5 separate regions of the Homo sapiens genome follow, and regions 1, 2, 3 and 5 are each linked to region 4. Evidence: promoter capture Hi-C in 16 types of primary human blood cells and fetal thymus (Javierre and others, 2016). All regions are on one chromosome and are shown on one strand. Each heading gives the region's core, a stretch centred on a gene start or on the middle of the fragment in contact. The rest is flanking DNA. Distances are from core to core; before and after follow the strand shown.

Region 1 (2,700 bases), core at 9-2,508, 240 kb before region 4:
CTGCTCTTCTAGTTGACCATGGAGACACAGAGGCAGCCAATCCATCCCCTCAGGCTCTCTGCAGATGTGTTGGCCGAGAGAGGACTGGGGGTTGTCCCCATCTCCATATGAGCATTCAGAGGTGTCCAGTCCCCCTCCTCATGCTACCTGCTACTCCGTGGCAATGTTCACCTAGTCTGCTCTGTGTCACACTCCAGGAGAAAAATGGGCTCTCCCTTGATCTGTCAATGGCAACAAGCCTCCTCTCCCAACAGCACATAGTAGAAAAAAGCTGGGCTTTGAGTCAGGGTGTTCAGCATTCATAGCCCAGCTCTGTCATTTTTCATCTTTTAGACCATGAGCAAACCCCAAAATCCCCACAGGCTCAAAGCTCCATCCTAGCCCTTCTCTTCCAGCATTGTTGAGAAGATTCGGTGAGTTTCAGGGTCTGAATATGGTGAACTTGATAAATAAAGCCTGTCTTCATCCCTCCCTCTGCTCCACATCCCCCTCTTTACCATGTTCACCCCAAAGTTGAACAATGTTGAAGCAAAGTAAGAGTGAGAAGGCACATGGCCCCAGGTCACCTGCAGAACTGCCACCATCTGCTTCCACCCAGGAAGCTCATCTGCACACTAGGGCCTATGCTAGATGGACAACAAAATGGTCCCAACTCTCTGTCCTTCAAGGCAGCCACTCCCTTGGCAATGTGACTTTCCAGTTCCCCCCTCAAGAGCAGTCTTCCATCTAGAGGAGGAGTCTCTTTCCCCTGCCTGTTGAGCTGACTTCATGGCTTGCTCTGGACAAGAGATTGCAGTAGAAGTCACAATGCACCAGGTCTGAGCTCAGGCTTCAAGCAGCCCTGAGCACTCACACTTGGTCTCCTGGAACTCCGCTGCTGCCACATGAATAAGCCTGGGCTAGTGTGCTTGTCAAGGGGCAGGCTCATCACCCCAGCTTACAGCTGGCCAGTGCCATCCTCACCAGCCAGCCCAGATGCATGAGCCAGCCCAGCTGAGATCCAGTGAATCTAACCCAGGTCTGCTGACCACTAGGTTCATGAGTAACAACACATGCTTACTGTTGCATGACACTGAGTTTTAGGACACACAGCTAGCTGATGCAGAGCCCTTCTTCTCTCCAAGGGGACTGGCAGCTCAAGCACAGATGGCAGGTGACCAAGGCCAGATTCCTACCAGTGATGTAGACAGGAGGCCAGGAAATACTGGGTAGAAGAGGGAAGTTCCCCAGCAAAGGCTCCACCCTCAAGCCTGGAAACTCACAGCCCTAAATGGGAACAGTCATTCCTGTTTTCACACACAAATGTTGCCTTTTGGCCTGCCATGCCTGTACCCATATAAACCCCAAATCCCAGGCTCCATAAGCAGAAGGGCAGAGGAACAGAAGAGCGACACAGTAGAGAAGGAGAGGAGAGAAGGAGCATCTGAATGTCGAGAGGAGTTCGGTTGGAGACAGTCAGAGAGAAGATCAGCTGCAGGATGGTAGAATTCCAGGGGAATATAGTCTTCCCACTCCAACCCCTTTCCAGCTCCCCATCCATCCTACTGAGAGCCACTTCCATCTGGCAATAAAATCCCCTGCATTTACCATCCTTTAACTTGTCTGTGTGACCTGATTCTTCCTGGTTGCCAGACAAGGATCTGAGTACCAAGAGGGCGCTGAGCTGGTTAACGCTTAAGCCATCTGCAGATGGCAGGAGCTAAAAGAGCACTGTAACATGCCCACTGGGGCTTTGGGAGTCACAGGCACCCACCCCTAGTGCTACCGTGGGGCCAGAGCCCAAAAGCGCTCACCCCAGTTCCTGCACCTGCCCGTCTGCGTGCCCCCCATCCCGTAAGGAGCAAGCAGCCAAACAAAGGAGCCACGTCCCTATCACACGTCCTGCGAGTGGGGTCAGGGAACTCTCTTATCTCACCGGCACCAGGAGAGGGCTCTGTTTAGGGATGCCATGTGCAGAGAATGGCACCAGATGTGGACTACATGGCACAGATAGCTTCTCTGAGATAAATTCATACCAATTTAGATAATCTCTCTCATTTCTGCCTCTCATGACCCGCCCCCTCCCCCTGCATCCCACCACGTCTTCTTACAGCTTCCCCGCTGAGCTCCCCAATCAGCTCTTCAGTCAACAAGCAGGCTGACTCACCTCAGGCTCAGAGGCGAGGCCCCCCCAAGGCTGAACACCCTTGGGGATCCGGGAGCAGAAAGGGTAATTGAGCCATTTCGGCTGCTGCAGGCTGTTTCCCTTTGTAAATGCCTATTTCTCATGTCTGCTGCCTCCTTGGCCAAAGGGGCTACCTGCTAATAAGCCATAGATACTCTGCAGGGAGGAGCTGACACTCTGCTCCGCTATTTAATGACCCACAAAGGAAGGAAAGGCCACCAGGTGTCTTCAGGCCCATGCTTCAGGTTCACAGTTCTCTTTGACCCCAGACAGGCCTCCCAGACAGTCTCTGTAAGGCTTTCAGCACCCCAGAGCACCAAGAATGGGATGGCATGATTTGAGATGGAACTCAAAATAGAAACAACAGCCAACCAGAAAATAAACACCAGAAAGTCCAGCGGCACTCAGGCCTTTTTCCCTGATGATTGCTTAGATGCTCCTTTGAAATATCAAAAATCAAACATTAAATTCTTACAATGTTTTACTTGGGCACTCCTGCTTGGCTGGAGTGTTAAGAATGTGTTTCATTTGCCCAG
Region 2 (2,700 bases), core at 117-2,616, 180 kb before region 4:
CTGCCTGTGGTCTCCTTTTCCCCAGCATCCCTACCCTCTACACACACACACACACGCACACACACACACATCACATGCACACATTTCCACTCTATTCCACAAACTGCACTAAAAACACAACTTTATAGATCCCTGACCATGAACCTGCAATAGCTCCCTATTACCTATGCCCTGTTACCTACTATTGACACTTGAGGCCAGAAAGTTCTTTACTGTCAGGGGCTGTCTTAAGCGGGTGCTGTGCGATGTTTATCAGCATCCCTGGCCTCTACCCACTGAGGCCACTAGTACTCCTCCCTATCCCCTGTTATGACAGAGAAACACAAATGTCCCCAGACGCTGCCAAATGTCCCCGGGGCCAGAGGTGGGAGGAGGCTCTTGTGCCCACTAAGAACCCCTGCCCTGCAAGGACAAAGGTCAACTCCTAACATGGCTTTCCAGGCCCTTCTCTTTTGCCTGAAAACTCACCTAACCCTCCTTGCTAACACCCCACTCTCTGACCCTCGTGCTTCTCTGTGCTCAGGCTGTTACCTCCTGGGACCTCTGTCTCCCTCTGCCCAAGCCCTCCCTGCCTTCCAAAACCCAGTGCAAGTCCACCGCATGCCTTCCGTGACTCGGCCCCAGGCTCCTGCCTTCCCTTCAAAACACACCGTTACCTTGAATATCCTCTGTGTCACCATCTAGTCGCCCACCCCCAAGCAGGTCACAAACACTATGTGAGTGGGACACATGGTGTGATCCTAACCGGCCCTCCAGAATAAGAAGCTCTGACATGTGGCACTTACTGGCCTCCATGAAGTAAATATTCCCACCGGGACTGATTTCTAGTCACTGAAGTGCTGTGACCAAACACAGAGTTGGGAAGAGGTGGCCCAGTGGCTCACACGAGCCCCTGTGCACAGGCTCCAGTGCACCCCACATACCTCCTCCCTTTGCTGCCCCTGGGCCCCACAACAGGTGTGGGGGCCCATGAAGCCTGGCTGTGCTGGTGTCAGGGAGGGGCTGGGCAGTGCCCCATGGCTACAGCCTGGCTCTGTAGCCAGGTCCTCTGACTGCAGTGGCAGTAGCCAAGACCTGGTTAGGTCCCAGATGAACCAAAGGCACCCCTGACATGCCCATCCCCATCCTGCAGGTGTGCAGGGCCCCTGGAGCTCACCTGGCTCTCCCTTCCCTGCACAAGCCAGGCTAGAAGGAAGGCCTCAGGAAGAACTTCACCTTGAGCTGCCGAGGCCCTCCAGTGAAACCTCATGCCAACTTAGAAGAAAAGAGTTAATGTATTGATCTTTCTTGGTGACTGTTAGTAAGATTCATAGCTAGCCTCAGACCACATTCATCTGCACCTCTAACTTTAATGACTACAGGCACTTCAGATGTGTGGGTGTTCACATGCATGTGTCTATGTGCACATGTGTGCATAGTCGTGCATGCATGCATGAGTGTGTACGTGCATGCATGCATGAGTGTGTACCTGCATGCACATGTGCATCTGTGTGTGCTCAAATGCATGTGCCTGTGTGAACACACATGCACATATTGTGTGTGTGAGAAAGAGAGCTCCAGATCTCTGGGCTTTTTATTTCTGTCACCTCTAACCTAGTTGCTGAATCGCACAATAAGCATCTGCTCAGGCCTGTTACATGCATTTGATGCCACAGACTCAAAGTCAGGTAAAGCAGGCTTTTCACCCTGGAGGAGCTTACTGTCCAGAGGGAGGGAGAAAAGGAAGTCAGTAATTATGGCCCAGTAACCTGGGGTGAGATGCACAGAGGGCATCTGTGGAACCCAGAGAAGGGACAGCCCACCTGGCAGGGGAACAAGGAGAAGAGAGGAAACTTCCAAAACAAGGAGACGCTCAAATAAGTCTTGAGGATGGAGGAATAGCTTTCAGGCAGTGAGGTGGCTGGTCCAGGTCGGGGAGCCATGTGGGATGGTGGGGTGTGACTGGGACACATTCAGGAAGGTGAGTCCCTGGGTGTGGTGGGGAGTGCAGATTGCAGTCACATCCATCCCCCACCCTCCCCTGTTCTTCCCTCTAGAGTGCCCACCCCTCCCCTTCCCAGACTCCCTATCCTGCTGATTACCACTGACCACTGAGAAGCATGGTCAGGAGACTCAGGCACAGGAGGAGGAGGAAGCCAGGTATTTCACCCTCTCTCTGCTTCCAGTGTCTCTGGCCATGGTTGGGTCTCCCACATGCTCCCAGTTCCCTCAGGGTGGCCCCTCTATGAGGTCCCAGTACCCACTGGACAGTCATGGCTCCAGGACCATCTCTCCCATTCATCCCTCGAGCCCTGGGAGTCACTCCAGCCCTGCCCAGTTGTTAGTCTGGGCTGCTTCCACTCCACCTGTCCTCAACTCTGCCAGCACTTGTCAGTAGTTCCTCATGTTAAATCCCCTCCTCTGAATGACCTGGAGTGGGCCATGTGTTCCTGATGGCACCCCTGCTGATCCATCCTGCGTCGCTGGGACACAGAGGTCTTGAGGGAGTGATGAGAGAAAGGCCAGGGAGAGACAGACCTTGGAGGCCCTGTGCACTGCGAGAAGGGATCTGAACTTGATCCTTAAGGAGAGGGGGAGACATTCAGGGGTCTAAGCAGGGCAGTGAGTTAAGGAAGGTGACTTTGGTGGCAGAATGAAGGATGAATGGATGTCTTCCAAACAGTGTGGCACAAAAATGCCCACCACACACAAACACATACA
Region 3 (2,700 bases), core at 169-2,668, 210 kb before region 4:
CCCAACAGCCCAGCTGTAGACCTGTGTGTGGTTCTGTTTGGGTATGAGGGGTGTGGGACCTTGTGTGCCCACAGAAGGATAGCCACAGTGGCATTTCTGGGCAGGAGGGATGCCAGAAAACCCTGAGACCAGGGCCTAGGGCCCAGCCATGCCAAGCCCACCACTCCTGCCCACTGCCTCCTGTCTCTGAGGCAGAGAAAGGATGACAGCAACGGAGACACTGCACTGGAGTGAGCCCTGAAGCCCCGCTCTGCGCCCGAGAGCCCCCATAGCTGGAGCAGATGCTGCCTAGCTCTCAGGGAGGCCACTTCAGGGCAGGGCTGTGGCTCCCCTGTGGGAGAAAGAGCCTGGGCTTTGGGGCCTGCCACAGGGGAGGTGGACTCATGGGTAGCCATCTCTGGCCTGGGCACGGCTCTTAAGCTCCCTGAGCCTCAGCCACTGCCTCTAAATTGGGCAGAGTGAGGCTGTCTAGGGGTAGGACCACTGTGAGGGGCACACAGAAGGACAGACATGAAGCACCTGGGACAGAGCCCGTGTGAGGGGCAGGCTGCTCGGAACAGCAGCCCATCCTCTCCAGTGCGGCTGCCACCCCTCACCCGCCTGTGCCTTGCCAGCCCTGACAGGGAGGCTTCTGCCTTCACAGCTTTCCACTGACCTCATGACAAGTGTTCTTTAAATTATGTATTTAATTTACATAATTACTTTCTGATATTTACTCGGGTTTAATTTGTTTCCTCGGGAACCTGTCTTTGAAGGGACAGTGGCAACCAGAGCCAGAAGTGAAGCCACAGCAAGGGGCCCACAGATGCCACCACCCCTCATTGTGGGCCTCCTGACGCCACTTCTGCAGAGGAACCTCACTCTGCCTGAGCTCCAGGGTGCCACAGAGCTTCCCGTGCCTGAGCCCAGTGGGTGCCAGGTCAGGTGGCATCTGGGACTCCACCCCATGCCTGAGTCTGGGTGCAAAGGAAGGCCTCCCTGACTGACACATTCACTCACACACACACGCTCAGGTATTCCAGCTCACCAGTGCTCACACTCACCTGCACTCACACACACTCAGTGGGCTGGAGCCCATCCTACCACCTTGCCAGAGCCTATTGTTAAATTTTCAGGAATTTGCAAGCCAGTTATTAAACATAGCCAGTATGGATTAAATTATATAAACCTATAATTAAATTATATTAACAAACAAAATTGATAAATACACAAAGTTCATCATTCCCTAATTATTTTGCTGCATTTTACTATTATCTGCGCTCTTGAGGCTATTAATGTCTATCCTATCTGAAACACCAGAAATAATGGGTGTCATTGCTTCCCAATTCCATGTCTAGGGACATCATGCTGCTCAAGATGGGGCTGGTGGTCAGCAGAGGCCAGGAGCTCTGCAAGAACAGCATGGGGACATGGCTGGATACCCCAGCCCAGGCAGCCAAGCCATGCTAGGAGCAACACAGATGGCCCAGGGCCTCTGCAACCCCACAGAGCCCCGCCACCAAAACATGCCTGCTAAGCCCCCAAATTAAAGCCACATCAATATTAATTAAGAGGCAGGATCTGCAGGCCTAATGGGGCTGCCTACCCATCCATCACAAACTCGTTACCTCCTGCCAGAACCTCTTGGGCCAGATTACAAATGGGATGTAGGGTGGGGGCGGGGAGGCAGGGTATTATCTTAAAATATAATTTGAATTTTCCTTCCAAAATACCATCCTCGGGCTGATCCATCACATGCCGCACCCGCCCAGGCCTGGCACAAGCATGGACTGGACGGTGGAGCCATCCATCACAGGCCGCCGGAAGGCCCTGGAAATGCCAGAGTTGCTCTTGGGCTCCGAGGAAGGTGCAGACAACTGGACTAATAGTATGATCAATGCCAGTGGGGTGGGGCTGCAACCATGGGAAATACCTGCCCAGACCAACACTGTCCCCTCTCCTCCTCCCAAGGGTAGATGTCCTTCCTGCCAGGAACGCTGGGTGAGGGGAGTAGGGAAGTGAGCCCCCATTTATGGCTTATGAAGTCCCTTCTTTGCACTGTCCCACTCTCTCCCCTTCATTTCCTCCTCACAGCAAGCCTACGGGAGCAGGATTTTCATTCCTTCTTTACAGAGGAAAAAACTGGGGCCTAGAGAGCTTCAGGCACTCTAGTAACAAGGGCTGAGCCAGGAGGTCTGATTCTGTCCAGCTCTGCCACCTCCAGGAGAGTGATACAACAGAATGTCGAGCCCCAAGGGCCACAGTCCACACCCTGGTCTCCAGAAGGGCCCCCGGCTTCTTGACCAACCTCCATATCCAAGGGGGTCCATCCCAGCAGGAGCAGGTGTCTCTAGAGAGTGGCTGCAGATCCTGGGAATCTTTCTCACCACTGCATACTCCCAGGTCCAAGCATGGAGCCTGGCATGCAATAGCAGCTCAGAAAAGTCACATGGAAAAAATGTTCAAATTAATTACAGAAATGCAATTTCTTGTCCAGGAGTAGAAGCTCGAGTCCAACAGAAGCCCACACCTGAGCTAGGCTGTGCAAACTGAAGAGGAGGAATTGACAGAGCTGCCATCGTAAGCTGGGCAAGAGCACACACCTCTGCTCGCTGCCACCTCTCCGGGAGCAAAACCAGGGGACACCCCAGCAGTGCACCCAGCACTGTACCAAGCCCCACACACTCCCCGTCTCATTTACTCACCCCAGCAACCCCAGGA
Region 4 (2,700 bases), core at 65-2,564:
CTCTGCGCTTTCATCTTCTCTCCCGGTTCTCTCTCTCTATCCATCTCTTCCCGCTCAGCATCCCCCTACCCCCCGCTGCCCACGCTTCTTCCCTCGGCTCCCACCACCCAGACCGTCTGGGCCCCCAAGACTTGGACCACGCAAAACTCTAGGACTGTCCAGGATGGGGATGCAGTCGCCACAACCAGATACACACGCACTCACACATACACCAAGGGCTACACAGACACACACCGGAGAAGCAGGCAGACACTGTGTCCACTCTAACAGGCTGACAGACAGTCGTGCACGCACCAACACACGCTCAGATGGCCCCACACACCCCAACACCCTCTCACAGTAACACCGACACCGTGCCAGGCGCACACAGCGACACACGCTGACAACACGCACCCACACACATTCACACACGGTTCCGGTCCGGCCTCTTTGATCTTGCCCTGCCAACTTGGCGAGCCCCCCGCTGTACCTCCCCCTGCCCCCCGCTGCTCTGAGCTGCGCAGAAGGGCCCTCCCGACCCGCCGACGGCCCCGCTAAGGGCGCGGGTCTCGACGCGCGTCCATCCCGGTGTTCCCCGAAGCGTCGGCCCTAAGTGTCGGTAGAGGCCGCGGGGCCCCGCGCGGAGATCGGAGCCCCGGGGAGCGGCAAGCAGCCAGCGGGAGCGCGGCGCGGCCGGTGCACAGCTCCTCCGCCGGGCGGCGCGGCGCGGCCCTTCGGGGGAGCACCGCCCGCCGAGCCCCTCGGCCCAGGGAAACGCCAAGTTTGGACGCCGCGCACCCCCTGCCCCGTTGGGGCCCCCGCCCAGCCTCGGCCCGGCCTCCAGCCGCGCTTACCGATGTGGATGATGGAGTCGGCCCGCACCGACACGCACTGGCATATCCAGGGGAGAAGCCACAGCGTCAGCGCTTCCATGTCCCCCGGGCGCGCGGCTCATCCACCCGGGCCCGGGGCGAGGCCGAGGGCAGCGCGAAGCGGGGAGGCGCTGGTCCCGGTGCAGTCCCGGGCCGCTCCCCGGGAGAGCCGAGCCCGCCCGTGCGTCTTCCCCCGCGCGCCCGCCCCTGCGCCCTGCGCCCGCCCCAGCCCAGCCCAGCCCAGCCCAGCGCGGTCGGGCTCCCGCTCCGGCTCCGGTGGCGGCTGCGGCGGTGCTGGCAGCTTGAGCCCAGGCCGGCGCGGCGGGGGCGGCCCGCGGCTGTGGCAGCGGCGCTTCCCGCGGCTAGAGCGGCTTCGGGGGAGGCTGAGGCGGTGGCGGCGGCGGCCGGGCCGGCGTGGCGGCTCTGGGCTGGCTGTGTGTCTGAGCCCCGGCGAGGAGCGAACTGCGGAGGACGCCCCCTCCCCTCCCCCTCCCCCTCAGCTCCGCTCCCCCTCCCCTCCCTGCCCGCCTCCCTCCCCTCCGCCCGCCTCTCTACCACGTGACTGCGGAGCCTCAGCCTCGCCGCGCGGCTCTCGCCCGCTCGCGGCTCGGAGGGGGCGCCGGGTGCTCCACGCTCCCGGCTCGGGGGACGCTCGGAGACCGGCACAGCGGCGGGGACCGGCCTGGGCTGCGGCGCGCCGAGCTCTGACGGTTCGGGCCTCCTTCTCCGGTTCGCCAGGGGCGGGAGAATGGAGGAGGGCCGGCCGCTAACTGCCCTCGAGGGGCTCCCGAAGCGCCCTGGCGACCTCAGCAGCCGCGCGTCTCGGGTCATGTCCCCGGCCGAAACAGACCGTTCCTCGTGGAGTGGGACCTGGGGAGCAAGAAGAGAGACCGGGGCGGGGCGCCGGGCCAGGCCCCAGGACAGCTGGGGAGCCAGAGGGGGCCGGCCGCCGCAAGCATCTCAGAGTAGAGCCCGGGCCGTGGGCTCGAACCCTGGCTGGCCGCGCGGACCTCGGCGGGCGCCCATCCCCCGCTCCATGGGCAGCGCGCTCAGCCGGGAGTCGGGCAAGAGGCTCGGACTCTGAAGCCCAATTCATGGCCGGAAACCAGCGCAGCCGTGACCGCGGCGCCTGGACGTGAGGAGCCTTCCAAGCGGCCGGCGGGCTCAGACTCCGACCCTGCACGGAGCTTTCATGTGCGAGCCCGGGCGAAGAGCCCGCTCCTCGCGGCCACAGCGGAACAGGGCTCCCTCCGCCTCCGGTGCCTGCCTCGGGCCGGCCACCACCAAAGAGAGCGTTAAGCTGTTGTGGGCTCGTGCCTGAAAGGGACTGGGCTCCATGTGGCACCCCCAAGATTTCGAGGAGACAGCTGAGCTTCCTGGGGTCTGGGACCTGGCAGAGCCTCGTTCAAAAGCTGCTCCTCCAGCAAGCCTGGGAACGTCCCCGGGCCCTGTTGTCCGCGGAGGGGCCCCAGGACTCCCGCCACGCACCAGGGGGAGAGGCTCCCACCACAGCCCTTGCCCAGAGCTCCCAGCGCAGTGGGCGAGGCAGACACCCAACCAAGTCATCTTTTAAATGTTGGGGGGGGCTATGAATGAGCTGTGTATGCTCAGATGCCTGGGCTCTGAACCAGCCTGGGAAGAAGAGCAGGGATGACTTCCTGGAGGAGATGACAGTTGTAAAGACTGAGTGGAGGTTCCCAAGGGAGAAAATAAGGCTTCCAGGCATTGAATAGTGGTGAGCCAAGGCAAAAAGAAAGAAGTGTGTGTCTGTATGTCTGTCTGTCTCTCATGTGGCCAGAGCCAAAGAGTAAGCATTGGTAGATTTCACTTTGGAAAGAAAGATTGGAGA
Region 5 (2,700 bases), core at 5-2,504, 190 kb before region 4:
AAGGGTAGTGGGCCTTGTGTATGTCTTACCCAACTTCAGTTGTTACCACCTACACCTCACCCACCCTCAAATTAAGTTGAAGAAAATCTCCAGCATCACATCTTTCACATGTATACATTTCAATTGTGTCTCCAAAAGACAAGGATTTTTCCTGTTTTTGTTTTATTTTGTTTTTAACAGACAGAATATCTGTCACCCAGGCTGGAGTGCAGTGGCCCAATCACGTCTCACTACAGCCTTGATCTCCTGGACTCAAGCAATCCTCCCACTTCAGCCTACCAAGTAGCTGGGACTACAGGTGTGTGCCACCATGCTTGGCTAATTTTTATTGTTTTTTGTAGACACAGGGTCTTGCTATGTTGCCCAGGCTGGTCTCAAATTCCTGGCCTCAAGTGATCCTCCTGCCTCGGCCTTCCAAAGTACTGGGATGACAGGCATAAGCCACTGCACCTGGCCTGACAAGAATTTTTTCTAAATGCAATGCCATAAGCATACCTACAAAAAGTAAACAAACCCTTACTATCTTCCAATATCCAGCCAGTATTCACATCTTCCCATGGTCACACACATTTTTTTTTATAATTTTTTCAAATCAGAATCCTGACAAAGTCTATACATATAGCCAATTGTTTGATACATCTCTTAAATCACTTTTAGTCTAAACTTTCCTCCTCAGTCTTCTTTTCTTTTTTTTTATTTTATTTTATTATACTTTAAGTTTTAGGGTACATGTGCACAATGTGCAGGTTAGTTACATATGTATACATGTGCCATGCTGGTGTGCTGCACCCATTAACTCGTCATTTAGCATTAAGTGTATCTCCTAAAGCTATCCCTTCCCCCTCCCCCCACCCCACCACAGTCCCCAGAATGTGATGTTCCCCTTCCTGTGTCCATGTGTTCTCATTGTTCAATTCCCACCTATGAGTGAGAATATGCGGTGTTTGGTTTTTTGTTCTTGTGATAGTTTACTGAGAATGATGATTTCCAATTTCATCCATGTCCCTACAAAGGACATGAACTCATCATTTTTTTTTGGCTGCATAGTATTCCATGGTGTATATGTGCCACATTTTCTTAATCTAGTCAATCATTGTTGGACTTCTGGGTTGGTTCCAAGTCTTTGCTATTGTGAATAGTGCCACAATAGACATACGTGTGCATGTGTCTTTATAGCAGCATGACTTATAGTCCTTTGGGTATATACCCAGTAATGGGATGGCTGGGTCAAATGGTATTTCTAGTTCTAGATCCCTGAGGAATCGCCACATTGACTTTCAAAAAAGAGCCTGCATCGCCAAGTCAATCCTAAGCCAAAAGAACAAAGCTGGAGGCATCACGCTACCTGACTTCAAACTATACTACAAGGCTACAGTCACGAAAACAGCATGGTACTGGTACCAAAACAGAGATATAGATCAATGGAACAGAACAGAGCCCTCAGAAATAACGCCACATATCTGCAGCTATCTGATCTTTGACAAACCTGAGAAAAACAAGCAATGGGGAAAGGATTCCCTATTTAATAAATGGTGCTGGGAAAACTGGCTAGCCATATGTAGAAAGCTGAAACTGGATCCCTTCCTTACACCTTATACAAAAATTAATTCAAGATGGATTAAAGACTTAAACATTAGACCTAAAACCATAAAAACCCTAGAAGAAAACCTAGGCATTACCATTCAGGACATAGGCATGGGCAAGGACTTCATGTCTAAACACCAAAAGCAATGGCAACAAAAGCCAAAATTGACAAATAGGATCTAATTAAACTAAAGAGCTTCTGCACAGCAAAACAAACTACCATCAGAGTGAACAGGCAACCTACAGAATGGGAGAAAATTTTCGCAACCTACTCATCTGACAAAGGGCTAATATCCAGAATCTACAATGAACTCAAACAAACTTACAAGAAAAAAACAAACAACCCCATCAAAAAGTGGGTGAAGGACATCAACAGACACTTCTCAAAAGAAGACATTTATGCAGCCAAAAAACACATGAAAAAATGCTCACCATCAGTGGCCATCAGAGAAATGCAAATCAAAACCACAATGAGATACCATCTCACACCAGTTAGAATGGCAATCATTAAAAAGTCAGGAAACAACAGGTGCTGGAGAGGATGTGGAGAAATAGGAACACTTTTACACTGTTGGTGGGACTGTAAACTAGCTCAGTCTTCTTTTCTCCCCACAAGGCAGCACACCAGTATTCCACAGGATCTTTGGAAATCATTGAAAGTTCTATAAAGATGTGTGTGAATATGCGTGGCAGGGGAAGTATATGTGTTTAGATATAGATACAGCAATAGCTATAGGGATGGGTACAGGGAGTAGCCGCAGATAGACTGTCTCAACTTGTGGATCTGGTTATTCTCTGTGTATTTCTCTCTCCCCTTTCTCACTCACTTACTCCCAAAAGGCCATTTCCTCTACCTCTTTGCCCTCAATAAAGCAAAAAAAAAAAAAAAGACTCCAAGAAAGTGGTGGCCTAAGTTACCCTCTGTCTTTATAAAAACATCTCCCTCTTGATACCATGATCCCTCCTTCAATGGCCACCATGCCTCCATACCCTTTGACAAAGAGAATTCCATATGACCTAGCCAGCTGGCTCCACTTCCTCTCTTCCTGCCATCTCTCGAACCCACCCCATCTGCCCACTGCCCCACTGCAACGGCTCTTGTCAAGGACATCACGG

Evidence for each region. The method cuts DNA at HindIII sites, captures the fragments that hold promoters and counts their contacts. A CHiCAGO score of 5 or more calls a contact.
Region 1: a fragment that was not itself captured here is called in contact with the fragment with the promoter of GRID1 in region 4 in 2 of 17 cell types (M0 macrophages and M2 macrophages); the score reaches 5.7 in M0 macrophages.
Region 2: a contact is called between a fragment that was not itself captured here and the fragment with the promoter of GRID1 in region 4, in 1 of 17 cell types (M2 macrophages). The highest score is 7.3, in M2 macrophages.
Region 3: a contact is called between a fragment that was not itself captured here and the fragment with the promoter of GRID1 in region 4, in 3 of 17 cell types (M0 macrophages, M1 macrophages and M2 macrophages). The highest score is 8.6, in M0 macrophages.
Region 5: a contact is called between a fragment that was not itself captured here and the fragment with the promoter of GRID1 in region 4, in 3 of 17 cell types (M2 macrophages, M0 macrophages and M1 macrophages). The highest score is 8.2, in M2 macrophages.

Annotation. Positions count from the first base shown.
Region 1 is chr10:86,129,116-86,131,815 of GRCh38, forward strand. All of the region lies in intron 4 of GRID1 (glutamate ionotropic receptor delta type subunit 1), which reads right to left. Among named protein-coding and RNA genes, the nearest start is that of MIR346, 130 kb to the right of the region's middle. The HindIII fragment of the contact is 8,832 bases long and covers 1-2,700 here.
Region 2 is chr10:86,189,458-86,192,157 of GRCh38, forward strand. The region is part of intron 3 of GRID1 (glutamate ionotropic receptor delta type subunit 1); the gene reads right to left. Among named protein-coding and RNA genes, the nearest start is that of MIR346, 74 kb to the right of the region's middle. The HindIII fragment of the contact is 8,553 bases long and covers 1-2,700 here.
Region 3 is chr10:86,152,233-86,154,932 of GRCh38, forward strand. All of the region lies in intron 3 of GRID1 (glutamate ionotropic receptor delta type subunit 1), which reads right to left. Among named protein-coding and RNA genes, the nearest start is that of MIR346, 110 kb to the right of the region's middle. The HindIII fragment of the contact is 6,972 bases long and covers 1-2,700 here.
Region 4 is chr10:86,365,481-86,368,180 of GRCh38, forward strand. It overlaps GRID1 (glutamate ionotropic receptor delta type subunit 1), which reads right to left and starts at 1,315. Exons shown (of 16, transcript NM_017551.3): 1 at 834-1,315. The coding sequence starts at 912. RefSeq lists silencers at 624-773, 804-1,003, 1,234-1,283, 1,304-1,693, 1,804-2,013. The HindIII fragment of the contact is 11,562 bases long and covers 1-2,700 here.
Region 5 is chr10:86,172,883-86,175,582 of GRCh38, forward strand. The region is part of intron 3 of GRID1 (glutamate ionotropic receptor delta type subunit 1); the gene reads right to left. Among named protein-coding and RNA genes, the nearest start is that of MIR346, 91 kb to the right of the region's middle. The HindIII fragment of the contact is 4,970 bases long and covers 1-2,700 here.